Regions from separate parts of the Homo sapiens genome. Here region 1 is linked to region 2. Evidence: promoter capture Hi-C in 16 types of primary human blood cells and fetal thymus (Javierre and others, 2016). All regions are on one chromosome and are shown on one strand. The core of a region is centred on a gene start or on the middle of the fragment in contact, and the rest is flanking DNA. Distances in the headings are between cores, read along the strand shown.

What was found. Contacts are between HindIII fragments. The CHiCAGO score rates a contact against its expected background, and 5 or more counts as called.
Region 1: a fragment that was not itself captured here is called in contact with the fragment with the promoter of RESF1 in region 2 in 3 of 17 cell types (naive CD4 T cells, non-activated CD4 T cells and naive CD8 T cells); the score reaches 7.0 in naive CD4 T cells.

What each region holds. Positions count from the first base shown.
Region 1 is chr12:32,025,979-32,032,744 of GRCh38, forward strand. No RefSeq gene overlaps it. Among named protein-coding and RNA genes, the nearest start is that of RESF1, 70 kb to the left of the region's middle. The HindIII fragment of the contact is 8,674 bases long and covers 1-6,766 here.
Region 2 is chr12:31,956,595-31,962,895 of GRCh38, forward strand. It overlaps RESF1 (retroelement silencing factor 1), which reads left to right and starts at 2,821. Exons shown (of 6, transcript NM_018169.4): 1 at 2,821-2,897; 2 at 4,183-4,277. It overlaps LOC105369725 (a long non-coding RNA gene), which reads right to left and starts at 2,710. Exons shown (of 2, transcript XR_931503.2): 1 at 2,534-2,710; 2 at 1,899-2,210. RefSeq lists enhancers at 443-942, 946-1,739 and silencers at 2,792-3,131, 5,475-5,534. The HindIII fragment of the contact is 2,403 bases long and covers 2,033-4,435 here.

The DNA.
Region 1 (6,766 bases), core at 2,496-4,995, 70 kb after region 2:
ACATATGATGTGGACCAGGCGACCTCATGCATGAGCCAAGAAAGGAAACAAACCAGAGGAGCCGTACACCAGCACCTGCCTGGAAACCACATCCTCATCAAAAGATAGAAAGAAGAAAAACTCGAGGCAGCCTAAGAACCCTACCTTGTGCTGCTAACCACCGAGACTGCCGTTCGCACAGCAGAAAAGGATAGACACATCATACCCAAGTCAAAAAAGCGTCATCACCATCAAAGTTATAGGTCATTGTTCCAGGGTCAAGCCCTACCAAGTTAAAGCTAAGAAAACTTTATCTATCTTTTCTTTCCTTTAACTACTCCCCATCTTATTAATGTAACTAAATCTAACTCACCTCAAATTATTACTTTTAATGCCTGTTCAGTTATCACTCCTCTCATACCAAATGACAAAACCAAAGTCTTTGTAGTAAAAGTAAAAAAATCTAAAGCAAACCACAGCAATTAAAACAAGATATCAAGATGTAAATGACTAGCTAAAATACATTAAATATTCTGTCCGCACTCTAAATAAAAGCAATTGTTATGCTTGTGCACACAGTAGGCTAGAAGTCCAAGTTATCCCCTTTCCACTCAGATAGTCCTCTAATCGACAAGGCATGGACTGCATGGTAGCTCCTTTTCTTCTTTTGTCTTTTTTTCTTTTTTTTATCTGAGACGGAGTCTCGCTCTGTCGCCCAGGCTGGAGTGCAGTGGCGCAATCTCGGCTTACTACAAGCTCCACCTCCCGGGTTCAAGCCATTCTCCTGCCTCAGCCTCCCAAGTAGCTGGGACTACAAGCGCACGCTGCCAAGCCCGGCTAACTTTTTTTTTTTTTTTTTTTTTGTATTTTTAGTAGAGACGGGGTTTTACCCTGTTAGCCAGGATGGTCTCGATCTCCATCTCCTGACCTCGTGATCCGCCCGTCTCGGCCTCCCAAAGTGCTGGGATATAGGCGTGAGCCACTGCACCCGGCCGGTATCAAAATCCTGCAGCCTAAGATAGTAAAGTGTGCCAAACTCTCTCTACTATTTCCTAAAGTGCAGTACCCTGAGGGTCAGCCCCCCGAGGGCCATTCAGCCTCCATCTTCCAAGACCAATTTTACCTCGTGTCTCCAACGATAAAAGGAAAATTTAGCGTACTTTGAAGACTTAACATGATACAGCGAGGTCAGGCACTTCCAAAAGCTAACCCATCAGTCCACCCTTATTCATCCCCAAGCGGATGCATAGTAATACTGTAAAAAACCTTTACTAGACACTCTACCAAATAATTAGAGCAGCACTTATGCTCTAGTTCAATTAGCTATCCCTTTTACCCTGGCATTTCATCAATCAGAAAAAGAGAAATTACGACATAAGCAAATAAAAGAAGCCTCAAAAGAAGCAGCCCCTTACAGCTATTTTGATTCCCATGTCTATTCAGATGCAATTAGAGGTCCTCACAGAGTACCAAATAAATTTAAAACCAGAGATCAAATAGCTGCAAGGTTTAAGTCAATGTTGTTTTAGTGAGTAGCAATTAATAAAAATGTAGATTAAATAAACTGCATTTATTACTACCAGCAGCAATTTATTAACTATACCAAAGATGCTGTTAAAGAAATAGCTGAACAATTAAAACCCACAAGTCAAATGGCCTGAGAAAATAAGATAACTTTAAATATAATATTAACAAAGAAAGGTAGTGTTTATATTATAATCAAAACTCAGTGTTGCACCTTTATTCCAAACAACACTGCTCCCAATGGGAGCATAACAAGGACCCTCCAAGGACTTACTGCCTTATTAAATAAGTTAGCAAAAAATTCCAGCATTAACAACTCTATTTCAAATTAGCTCGAGAAATAGTTCAGCCAACAGAAAGAGACCATGGCCTCAGTCCTTACTTCTCTAGCAACTGTAATAAGTATACTTCTCCTTATTAGATGTCATGTTATGTTATACCATACATTTAAAAGCTAATCAAAACAACTAAGCCAAGACATATTTAAAAAAAAAAGTTTGAAGAAGAAAACTATAAAAACAAGACAAGGAAATTGTAGAAAGTAAAAAGTTCCTCTTCAAAGTTTCCCTTCTTGTTCAAGAATAAATCATAAGTGTTAGAAATAGTAGTTTCTTTTAAAGACTAACTGTATGCTAGACATGCGCACAGGCCTGTCCCGGCTCGCAGCCTATGCCCCTTCCTTATTTAAGAATGTTATTACCTTTCTAAGTCCTTTCGTAAGTAACTTCCTCTTTTCCTTTGTCTTTCTATTGCCTTTGCCTATTTAGAAAAGTTTTAAACTGTTAGCTAATCAGGTTTTAGTTTAGATTGTGAGGTCTGGCTTTAGCCAATGGAGACAGGACACAGTAGCAGGGACAAACTGCGTAAAGGATAAAAATTACTTCCCTCCATTGTTCAGGTGTGCTCTTGCCATTATTCCATCTGTGGTGAATACTTGACTTTCTGCAAAAAGTAAAGATTGCCATGCTAAGAGAATTAAATTTATGTTCGAGTGCTATTTCTTCGTAGCACCAAGGAACAAGCATTCTATTTCTAAGTAAACATTTTTTACATATAACCAACAAACAAACAAAAACCTGTCTCTACTAAAAATACAAAAAAATTAGCAGGACGTGGTGGTGCACACCTGTAATCCCAGCTACTCAGGAGGCTGAGGCAGGAGAATCATTTGAACCCGGGAGGCCGGAGGTTGCAGTAAGCCAAGATTGTGCCACTGCACTCCAGCCTGGGTGACAGAGTGAGACTTCGTCTAAAAAAAAAAAAAAAAACAGATAAAAATGTGTTATTTGTAAATTAGCTGGGTGCAGTGGTGTGGGCCTGTAATCCCAGCTACTCATGGGGCTGAGGTGGGAGAATCTCTTGAGCCAAGGAGGCGGAGGTTGCAGTGAGCCCACATCACGCCACTTCACTCCAGCCTGGGTGATGGGAGTAAAACCCGGTCTTAAAAATAAGTAGGCCAGGCTCTGTGGCTCATGCCTGCAATCCCAGCACTTTGGGAGGCCGAAGTGGGTGGATCATTTGAGGTCAGGAGTTTGAGACCAGCCTGGACAACACGGTGAAACCCTGTCTCTACTAAAAAAAATACAAAAATTAGCTGGGCATGGTGGCGAGCACCTGTAATCCCAGCTACTTGGGAGGCTTAGGCAAGAGAATTGCTTGAGCCTGAGAGGCAGAGGTCGTGGTGAGCTGTGATAGCACCACTGCACTCCAGTCTGGGTGAGAGAGTGAGAGACCCTGTAGGAAAGAAAAGAAGGAGGGAAGGAGGGAAGGAGGGAAGGAAGGAAGGAGGGAGGGAGGGAAAGAAGAAAAGAAAGAAAGAGAGAGCGGGAGGGAGGCAGGGAGGAAGGGAGGGAGGAAGGAAGGAAGGGAAGGGAAAGGAAAGAAAGGAAGGGAAAGGAAGAAAGGAAAAGGAAAGAGAAAGAAAAAGAAAGAAGAAAGAGAGAAAGAAAGGAAGGAAGAAAGAGAAGAAAGGAAGAAAGGAAGAAAGGAAAGAAAGAGGGAGAAAGGAAGGAAAGGAAAGGAAAGAAAGGAAGACAGGAAAGGAAGAAAGGAAAAGGAAAGAAAGAAAGCAAAAGAAAGAAAGAAGAAAGGAAGAAAGGAAAGAAAGAGGGAGGAAGGAAGGAAAGGAAAGAAAGGAAGAAAGGAAAGGAAGAAAGAGAAAGAAAGAAGAAAAGAAAGGGAAGAAAGGAAGGAAAGAAAGAGGCCCTGTGCACAGCCTCACACCTGTAATCCTAGCACTTTGGGAGGTCGAGGTGGGTGGATCACTTGAGGTCAGGAATTTGAGAACAGCCTGGCCAACATGGTGACACCCCATCTCTACTAAATATATATATATATAAAAAATTTAGCTGGGCATGGTGATAGATGCCTGTAATTTCAGCTACTTGGGAGGCTGAGGCAGGAGAATCGCTTGAACCCAGGAGGGAGAGGTTGCTGTGAGCCAAGATAACACCACCACACTGCAGCCTGGGCTACAGAGTGAAACTCTGTCTCAAAAATAAATAAATAAAAATAAATTAATTAATAATTGTATTTATTGCTGCTATTTTTGAAGTTAATTAAAGGTATTTTAAGCTGGGTGTGGTGGTTCACACCTGTAATCCCAGCACTTTGGGAGGCCAAGGTGGGTAGATTTCTTGAGGCCAGGAGTTCAAGACCAGCCTGGGCAACATCGTGAGCCCTCATCTCTACTAAAGATAAAATAATTATCCGGGTGTGGTGTCATGAGCTTGTAGTCCTAACTGCTCAAGAGGCTGAGGTGGGAGGATCCCTTGTGCCTAGGAGGTGGAAGTTGCAGTGAGTCGTAATCTCACCACTGCACTCCAGCCTGGGTGACAGAGCCAGACCCTGTCTCAAAAGAAATAAATAGGCCGAGTGGGGTGGCTCACGCCTATAATCCCAGCACTTTAGGAGGCCAAGGCAAGTGGATCACATGAGGTCAGGAGTTCGAGACCGGCGTGGGCAGCATGCTGAAACCCCGTCTCTACTAAAAAAAAAATGCAAAAATTAGATGGGCGTGGTGGCACACGTCTGTAATCCCAGCGACTTGGGAGGCTGAGGCAGGAGAATCGCTTGAACCCCGGAGGCGGAGGTTGCAGTGAGCCGAGATTGTGCCATTGTGCTCCAGCCTGGGCAACCAGAGCAAAGCTCTGTCTCAAAAACAAACAAACATTTGCTTTTTTGTTTTTAATATTACTATTTTACTAATGGTACAATACTCCCCCATTTACCACAAGTGATAGATTTTCTGTCAGGTTTTCTTCCATTCCATGTAAAGCCATTTGTCTCCTCCATCAAATTATTTTACTGCTAATTCTGCCTTTAGTCATCTGCATTGTAATCTTTTACCTCTAGTTTTGTATGAATTCAACAGCCTTAAATAACTGCACGGAGTGATGCAACTTATTTATGATTAGAAAATGCTTGTTAATGAACCACATGCAGTCATTTTTGAAATTGTAAATGGCATTAACAATTTTTCTTCTTTTCTTTTTTTTACTTCTTTTTAAAATAACTTGGGTACTCTCTTTTCCTTATTCTTGCCAAGCATATATATTAGTGAAAACCTATGCGGGAAGTGGCAATTTGGTCTCCTCTTCCTCCTGTAGTTGTTAGTTATTTGAATAAGGTGATTTGAGTTATTTCTAATTCTGGCTGTATTCTCTTGGGTTCCCACAGACACACACCCTGAGAAAGGATTTGAAAGCAAGTATTAATAATTCACTGGGAGGTGATCTCAGGAAACACTGGTGGAGGACTGGCGACGTGAGATAAGGATGGAAGGGAAAAGCAGTTAAGAAAAGGGTGAGCTATCAATCCAGCTGCCACTGTGAGCAACTGTAGCTGCATCTTGCTGCAGAACCCTGGGACTCAGTGTAGAGAGCATGACCCAGACTTACCCACAGGATGAGTGAGGGAGCTGGTTATGAACTGCTGGGGGAGTGTTACAGTTCAGGCTGCCAGAGCAAACCTTGTCATGGAAATCAGCCGGGCATACACTACAGAGTCAGAAGTAGGGATGGAGGCACTGAAGATGGCAGGCACAAACACAGTGCAAAATTTTCATCATCAACTCTATGTTTTATATACTTTGAAAGATTTAGATAACTGGCATCAACTTATTTATCAGAGAAGAGTTGAAGAGTGAGACCATTTAGGAGGCTTGAGATAGTCCAGGTAGCAGCTTAGACTTGATTGTATGGAAATAAAGACCACCTACAGGAGAACAAATAAAGGCTATCTAATCAGAGCTTGCTATATAGCAAGAGAGAGAGCCACCATCATGTGCATTTGGTAAAAAGTCAAAGTCAAGCAGAGGACTGCGAAAACTTGATAGTGGAAAAAGCAAAAAGTTTCAGGTCTACCCTGATTGGACGCTGTCGACCTGGAGAAGCTGTAGGCAGCTAACTAGAAGAGGCGCATCCTATGGGATTGGTTAGGGGTGCATATTTGGCTTTCTCCTGTGGGTCCTAAATTGGAAGCTGGGACAGAAATGAGAGAAGCTGGCAGTTACTTGAGACAGGGTCTCACTCTGTTACCCTGGCTGGAGTTGCAGTGGCACGATCATGGCTCACTGTATCCTCAGCCTCCCAGGCTCATGCAGTCCTCCCACCTCAACCTCCCAAGTTGCTGGGACTACAGGCATTTGCCACCAAGCCTGGCTAATTTTATTTTTAATTTTTTGTAGAGATGAGATCTCACTGTGTTGCCCAGGCTGGTCTCAAACTCCTGGGGTCAAGAAATCCTCCTGCCTCAGCCTCCTAAAGTGCTGGGGTTATAGTCATGAGTCCCGTGACAGGCAAAGCTGGCAGCTATCAGGGCATACTTGAAACCTTCTCTTTTTCCACTATAAAAATTTCCCACTCCTCTGCCTGCCTTTGAGTCTTTGCCAAAACACAAGTGACTGTGACTGACGCTCTTGCTGTAGCAGGCTCTGGATAAATAGCCTTTGATTGTTCTCTTTCGGTTGGTCTTTGTTTATGTCCATAGATCAAACCATTTTTACTTGCATCTTCTTGCTCCTGTCATATACTTGTTTTGTGCCAGCCGTATGAAACTTCTCACTTTCCTTCAAATCAGCTTGCCAGTCCCTAGAATGTGCAAGCTGCTCATGTTGCTCATGTTGTATGTGTCCTGTATCTAGAAAACCCTTTTACTGCTTCTCCAGCTGACGGAAAAAATCCTACTCGCTTTACTCCAAAGGCCAGCTCAAGTATCACCTCATCTGTGAAGCATTTCCTAACTCTTCCAGGGAGAATTAATT
Region 2 (6,301 bases), core at 1,571-4,070:
AATCGGAATGAGTCAGGGTGGAGCAGGTGATTGAAATGAGTCAGGGTGGAGCAGGTGATGGAAAAAGGTTGCTTTACGAGGAAGTTAAGTTTAAAAGTAAAAGGCAAAGATTGACCATACTGACATATTGATTCTTTGAAGAGAAATTTAGAATTCATATCTAACACAACCGTTTTTGCAACAACACACAACCCAAGAAAGCTGGTCTCAATATTATTATTATTATTATTATTATTTTCCGAGACAGGCTCTTACTCTGTCACCCAGGCCGGAGTTCAGTGGCTCAATCTTGGCTCACTGCAACCTCTGCCTCCCAAGCTCAAGTGATCCCCCCATCTCAGCCTCCCAAGTAGCTGGGACTACAGGCGCATGCCACCACTCCTGGCTAATTTTTTTTGTTTTTTGTATATTTTTTGTAGAGATTGGGTTCACCATGTTGGCAAGGCTGCTCTCTCAAACTCCTGGCCTCAAGTGATCCTCCCCAAAGTGCTGGGATTACAAGCATAAGCCACCACGCCTGATCCCCAATCTTTTTTTGTTTGTTTTGTTTCATGAGACAGACTCTTTCTGTGGCCCACGCTGGAGTGCAGTGGCGTGATCTCGGCTCACTGCAACCTCTGCTTCCTGGGTTTAAGCAATTCTCCCGCCTCAGCCTCCCGAGTAGCTGAGAATTACAGGTGCCCACAACCACGCCTGGCTAATTTTTATATTTTTAGTAGAAACAGGGTTTCACCATGTTGGTCACGTTGGTCTCAAACTCCTGATTTCAAGTGATTCACCCACCTCAGCCTCCCAAACTGTCAGGCCTCTGAGCCCAAGCTAAGCCATCATATCCCCTGTGACCTGCACGTATACATCCAGATGGCCTGAAGCAACTGAAGATCCACAAAAGAAGCGAAAATAGCCTTAACTGATGACATTCCACCATTGTGATTTGTTTCTGCCCCATCCTAACAGATCAATGTATTTTGTAATCTCCCCCACCCTTAAGAAGGTTCTTTGTAATTCTCCCCACCCTTAAGAAGGTTCTTTGTAATCTCCCCCACCCTTAAGAAGGTTCTTTGTAATTCTCCCCACCCTTGAGAATGTACTTTGTGAGATCCACCCCCTGCCCGCAAAACATTGTTCCGCGGAGCCTCTCCCAAAACCTATAAGAATTAAAGATAATCCCACCACCCTTTGCTGACTCTCTTTTCGGACTCAGCCCGCCTGCACCCAGGTGAAATAAACAGTCTTGTTGCTCACGCAAAGCTTGTTTGGTGGTCTCTTCACACGGATGCGCGTGACACAAAGTGCTGGGGTTACAGGCCTGAGCCACCACACCTGGCCACCCCCAATCTTTAAGAATATTCTGGCCGGGCGCGGTGGCTCATGCCTGTAATCCCAGCACTTTGGGAGGCTAAGGCGGGCGGATCAAGAGGTCAGGAGATCGAGACCATCCTGGCTAACATGGTGAAACCCCGTCTCTACTAAAATACAAAAAATTAGCCGGGCATGGTGGCGGGCGCCTGTAGTCCCAGCTACTTGGGAGGCTGAGGCAGCAGAATGGCGTGAACCTGGGAGGCGGAGCTTGCAGTGAGCCGAGATCGTGCCACTGCACTCCAGCCTGGGCGACAGAGCGTGACTCCGTCCCCCCCCCAAAAAAGAAAGAATATTCTGTATGTAGTTTTTTTGTTTTGTTTCTGACAGACGCAAACGCACTCTTCTAGTAATGACTAAAGACTTCTTCGTTTAATTCACCAATGAACTAATCTGACAATTTATGTAACAAATAAATTCCTATAAACATAAGCTCCCTTGCCCCTCTCCAGTGGCACAATCTCTGATTTGCCATCCTGGTTGCAACCTTCATTACTAAGTAAACGCTTACGTAAACCTTAATAATGAGATTCGGGCAATATGATTAAATATTGGTTTATTTGAGTGCAAAGTTTGAGGATGGCGACCCGGTAGGACACAGACTCCAAAAGATGGGGGTCAGTGCTTCGAAAGGGAGAAGTTTGAGGGTCGTTTACACAGGCAGGGTCTGGGAAGCTTAACAGGATGTCAACATTTTCCATAGAAGGTTAACGCATAGCAATTTGATTGGTTCAAGGCAGTGTTTCTTTTTGGGAAGGGTCTATTTAACATTCCACATTAAGGATGTAATAGTCAAGCGGTCATTTATCTTATTCAATGCGTATTTTATCTCAGATGCCATCTGGTCTGAGCTGGGAACAAGAAAATAAGGGAGTTAATCTATAACAAAAGGTCGGCAATTAAGAGGTCGTGCTTCGTGATCTGGTCTCCAAAGTCAACTTTCCTCAGGGACTTTCAGAATCCCCAAATAGACTATCCACTTTCTTTCACACTTATTTGCCTCTAACTTGTTGATTTCTTTTTTTTTTTTCTGTTTTTTAAGGGTTAACAATCTCTTGGGTGCACTCTGACTTCCATGCGCTTTATAGAAAAAATTGGTCCTGAGGCCAGCAGCAACAGTCGGTCTCAGGAACTTGTTAGAAATGCACATTTTTCAGCCCCACCCCAAACCTACTGAATCAGCAGTTTTGCTGGTGGTTCTCAATCTCTCTTTAACGTGCCCTCTGGGTGCTGCGGATGCACGCTGAAGGTAGAAGATCGCTGCAGGAGATTTCCGCGTCGGGCAGATGAAAGCGCTCTGCAAGCCCGGGTGTTATCTGCGGGCCGGGTCCGCGGCTTCTCTGGTGGCACTAGGACCGCGGCGGCGCGGCCCTCGCAGCCACCGCCTCGGGCGTGAGGCGGAGCGTAGCTGTTCCTGGATCCTGGGCCTGGCTCCTCGACCCGCCCCTGGAGGCGGACCCCACTTGACTTAAACTCTGGGGCCCGGGAGGCCGCCGGTTTTCTCCCCGCTTGCCGGGGTGGTCCTCTTCCCTTTGTCGGTAAGTGTGAGACGAGCACCCCGAGGTCCCTCCGCCTTCCGGGGTCCGGGCGGGGCGGGGGCCGGGAGCCGGGAGCCAGAGGCACTCGCGGTCCGGGCCTGCGCGCGGCGCAGAGCGCTTTTGTTCTGCGGCAAAGACGCAGTCGCGGGCGGCCCCGGAACCCGGGCCTCGGGCCCCGCCGGCTCGCGCGTCCCGCCGTCCGCCCACCGGAGCTGGGCCGGGCCGCCGCGCTTGCTTCTGCCCGCCGCACCGGGGCCGGCCCTGGGCCTCCGCGGATGCCGAGCCTTGCACCGGAGGGCGGGCCTCGCTGGCTGTTTTCCCTCATTGCCTGGCTCTGCGCGGTAGAGGTCGCGAGTGGCGAAGGCTAGGACGCATTTTGTCGAACTGCGAGGCGCGGCTGGTGAGGCGGGTGGGTATGAGAGCTGCTTATGTTTTTAAGGCTTTCCTGTCGCTGGAGTGAAAAAGAAAAATCTTTTTTTTTTTTTGCTATTTCCCGAGGGTTCTCCTCCTCCCCGGCCCTCTTAAGCCGAAGCCTCCTGGAACAGAATTGCTGTACTGGCATCTATCTCCAAGTGGTCCGCGAACGCTTCTGCGCCGGCGATGGTTTCTGTTCCTCAGCAATAGTTCCTTGAGGCATTTTTAAATGCACAAACGCATACCCATCTTAGGTGTTCTCGAGGGACACGGATTCCCTAAGCAAACGTCCTTAGGGTCCTGAGTTCAGCAGCAAACTTTCGGGGAATCATTTCCGTGAAAACAATTTATTTGTAGTACATCGAGTGCATACTGTCTTAACATAAGGATGTGTATGAGCTTGAGGCGCATTTTCATTTAGTGGCGGGCGGGTGCATTTCAGTAGGCGGGCCGCAGAGCTTGTTTGGGGATTGCATTTTTCTGCTAAATGTGTTAGCTTTAATCATGTTTCAGTCACTGTTAATGTGCATGCATGTTAAGGTTTTAGGTTTTTTCCCCTGTGCAGTCGGATTTTTTTCTGTTTAATATTAATCCAATAAAGACAAGTGCAGAGATAAAGTATTATTGTTTTGCAGTGATACTACAATAGCGGACCTAGAGGAGCGCACATAAATTCTAACTTAAGTGAATGGTATTTTCAGGCCAGACCTAGTTTCTATTTCTGTTACTTAGGACACTTAATAAGAATTCAGTAAACTTAGCATGCTTTCAGTGCAGCCATAAAAGAAAACAGTTTTGCACAGCAGTGTCATATCTAGTAAACACATTAGCATGTGCTCTTTTATTATAAAATGTTTCTTGCTGTCCCTAGGACCAAAGAAGTAAACACTGTGTGGAGAGGGACTGACGTGTTTGGAGGGAAATGGGAATGTACACGATAATTAAAGAGTAAAGTTGTGCTCAACGGTAAGTGTATCACCTCTAAGAAACCCGCCCTGATTTAACCAGGCGGTTATTCACACTCAACTATGGAGTAATTCACCTATTACCGAATAAAATTACTAGCTCAGTGAATCAACATCGGTTTTAAATTAAACTGTGGGTCACAATGGAATTGACAGCAAAGCTTGAGAAGAAATGTTGTTGGCATAGTACTGAAAAATCAGTTGTTAATCTTAGCAAAATAAGGAAAGAGGTCTTTGGTAAGGGAATTGTGGTGGAAGTTACCTGGGCAGAGGTCTGCTTCTGTCTGTGCTGTGTTTATTTGATTGTTTTTATTATATTTTATTACTGTTGGTGGCACATAGGGGAATGTGGCGCAGAGCACCACTCTGGGAGGATGCTTCCCGTGCAGCCAAAGTGATCATGTCCAGGGCTTTCATCTGTAACCACAAAGTGTGTTAGGAAGTCTCACCTAATGATTAAGACCATGGTCCCTGTAACCACACTGCTTTGGTTCAGATCTTGGCTGTAGCACTCAGCCAACCCTGGAAAATAAACCTCTGCCTGTTCTCTCATCTATAAAATGGGGACAAGCACTAATGTCATAGGATTGTTATGGTAGAGTTACATGAGTTTCATGCATATCACAGTTAAACAGCTCCTGATGCATGGCAAGTGCCCAATAAATGTTAGCTATTGTCATGTTAGAGGAAATAGATTTTGTGGCCTGGGACATGTAATGCTGCCTTAGCAGAAATTCAGCTGGTTCATTTAAGCTCTAAATTTATGAGCTTTTTATTGATTAAACCCATCACTGTAGATCCTCTTAGATTCTCTTTTTTGTAGGTCTTGTTTTGTTAGGAAGTACCTGTCACTACTGGTCCACATCTGGATTTACCTGCAGGCTTGTTTGGAATAAAAAATGCCTCCAAATTCCTAGGCAGGACAAACTTGCCCCAAAGCTTTGTTGTTCTACATTATCTCTGTGATTGTACAGGAATCTCTCTTCCCTCCTAGATTATCAGTGTCTTGGATATAATTGGAGCTCAAATGCTTAGGGAATTGATTTAATGTTGCTTAAAACGTATTTGTAGGCCAGGTGTGGTGGCTCACGCCTATAATGCCAGCACTTTAAGAGGCTGGGGCAGGCAGATCACTTGAGGCCAGGAGTTCGAGACCAGCCCTGGCCTCAAGTTGGCCAACATGGCAAAACCCCATCTTTACTAATAATAACAAAAATTAGTCGGGCGTGGTGGCACATGCCTGTAATCCTAGCTACTCAAGTGGCTGAACCCAGGAGGTGGAGGTTGCAGTGACCTGAAGTCACCCCATCGTACTGCAGCCTGGGTAACAGAGCAAGATTCTGTCTTTTTAAAAAAAAAAAAAAAAAAGCATTTGTGAAGGTGAATTTCAAGAATCTAATCAGGCCTCCCTCCCTCCCCCATTAGAGGCACACTCTATTATGTAAAACAGACAGGGAGTGTATTCATTTTGAGATAAGTCCAGGATAACAGTTGACTAACCCTGGCTATAGATACGCAAGTTAAACATTCACTTTGGAAGAAGATTGTGAAGAAAGAATCTTGGACCTTGAGGAATTCTAAATGCTTTGTTGGGTGGCAACTATGCAATACTTACACTATTCCTAATACCTTAAGTGTACTTGTAAGTGAAGAGCAAAGTTGGAGGCTGTTGAGGTAAATAATCTCAAGTGAGATTGGAACTATACATTTTATGCTCCTGGTTTTCATGATCGCAAAGATTTAATGACAGTAACTTAAGATTCTCTTGATGTATCAAATTACAAGGTTTCATTTGTAAATAAGGTGATTAAAATGACAAAGTGTATTAAAAGAAATTGTATTGTCCAGTGAAGTTTTAAGAAACAGAAACCATAAGGTGATTATTATTTTTCAAGCCCCAAAGGAGAATTCATTAGATGACATACTTTTAAAGTTCATGGATCAGGGTCGGGTGCGGTGGCTCATGCCTGTAATCCCAGCACTTTGGGAGGCCAAGGTGGGCAGATCACCTGAGGTCAGGAGTTG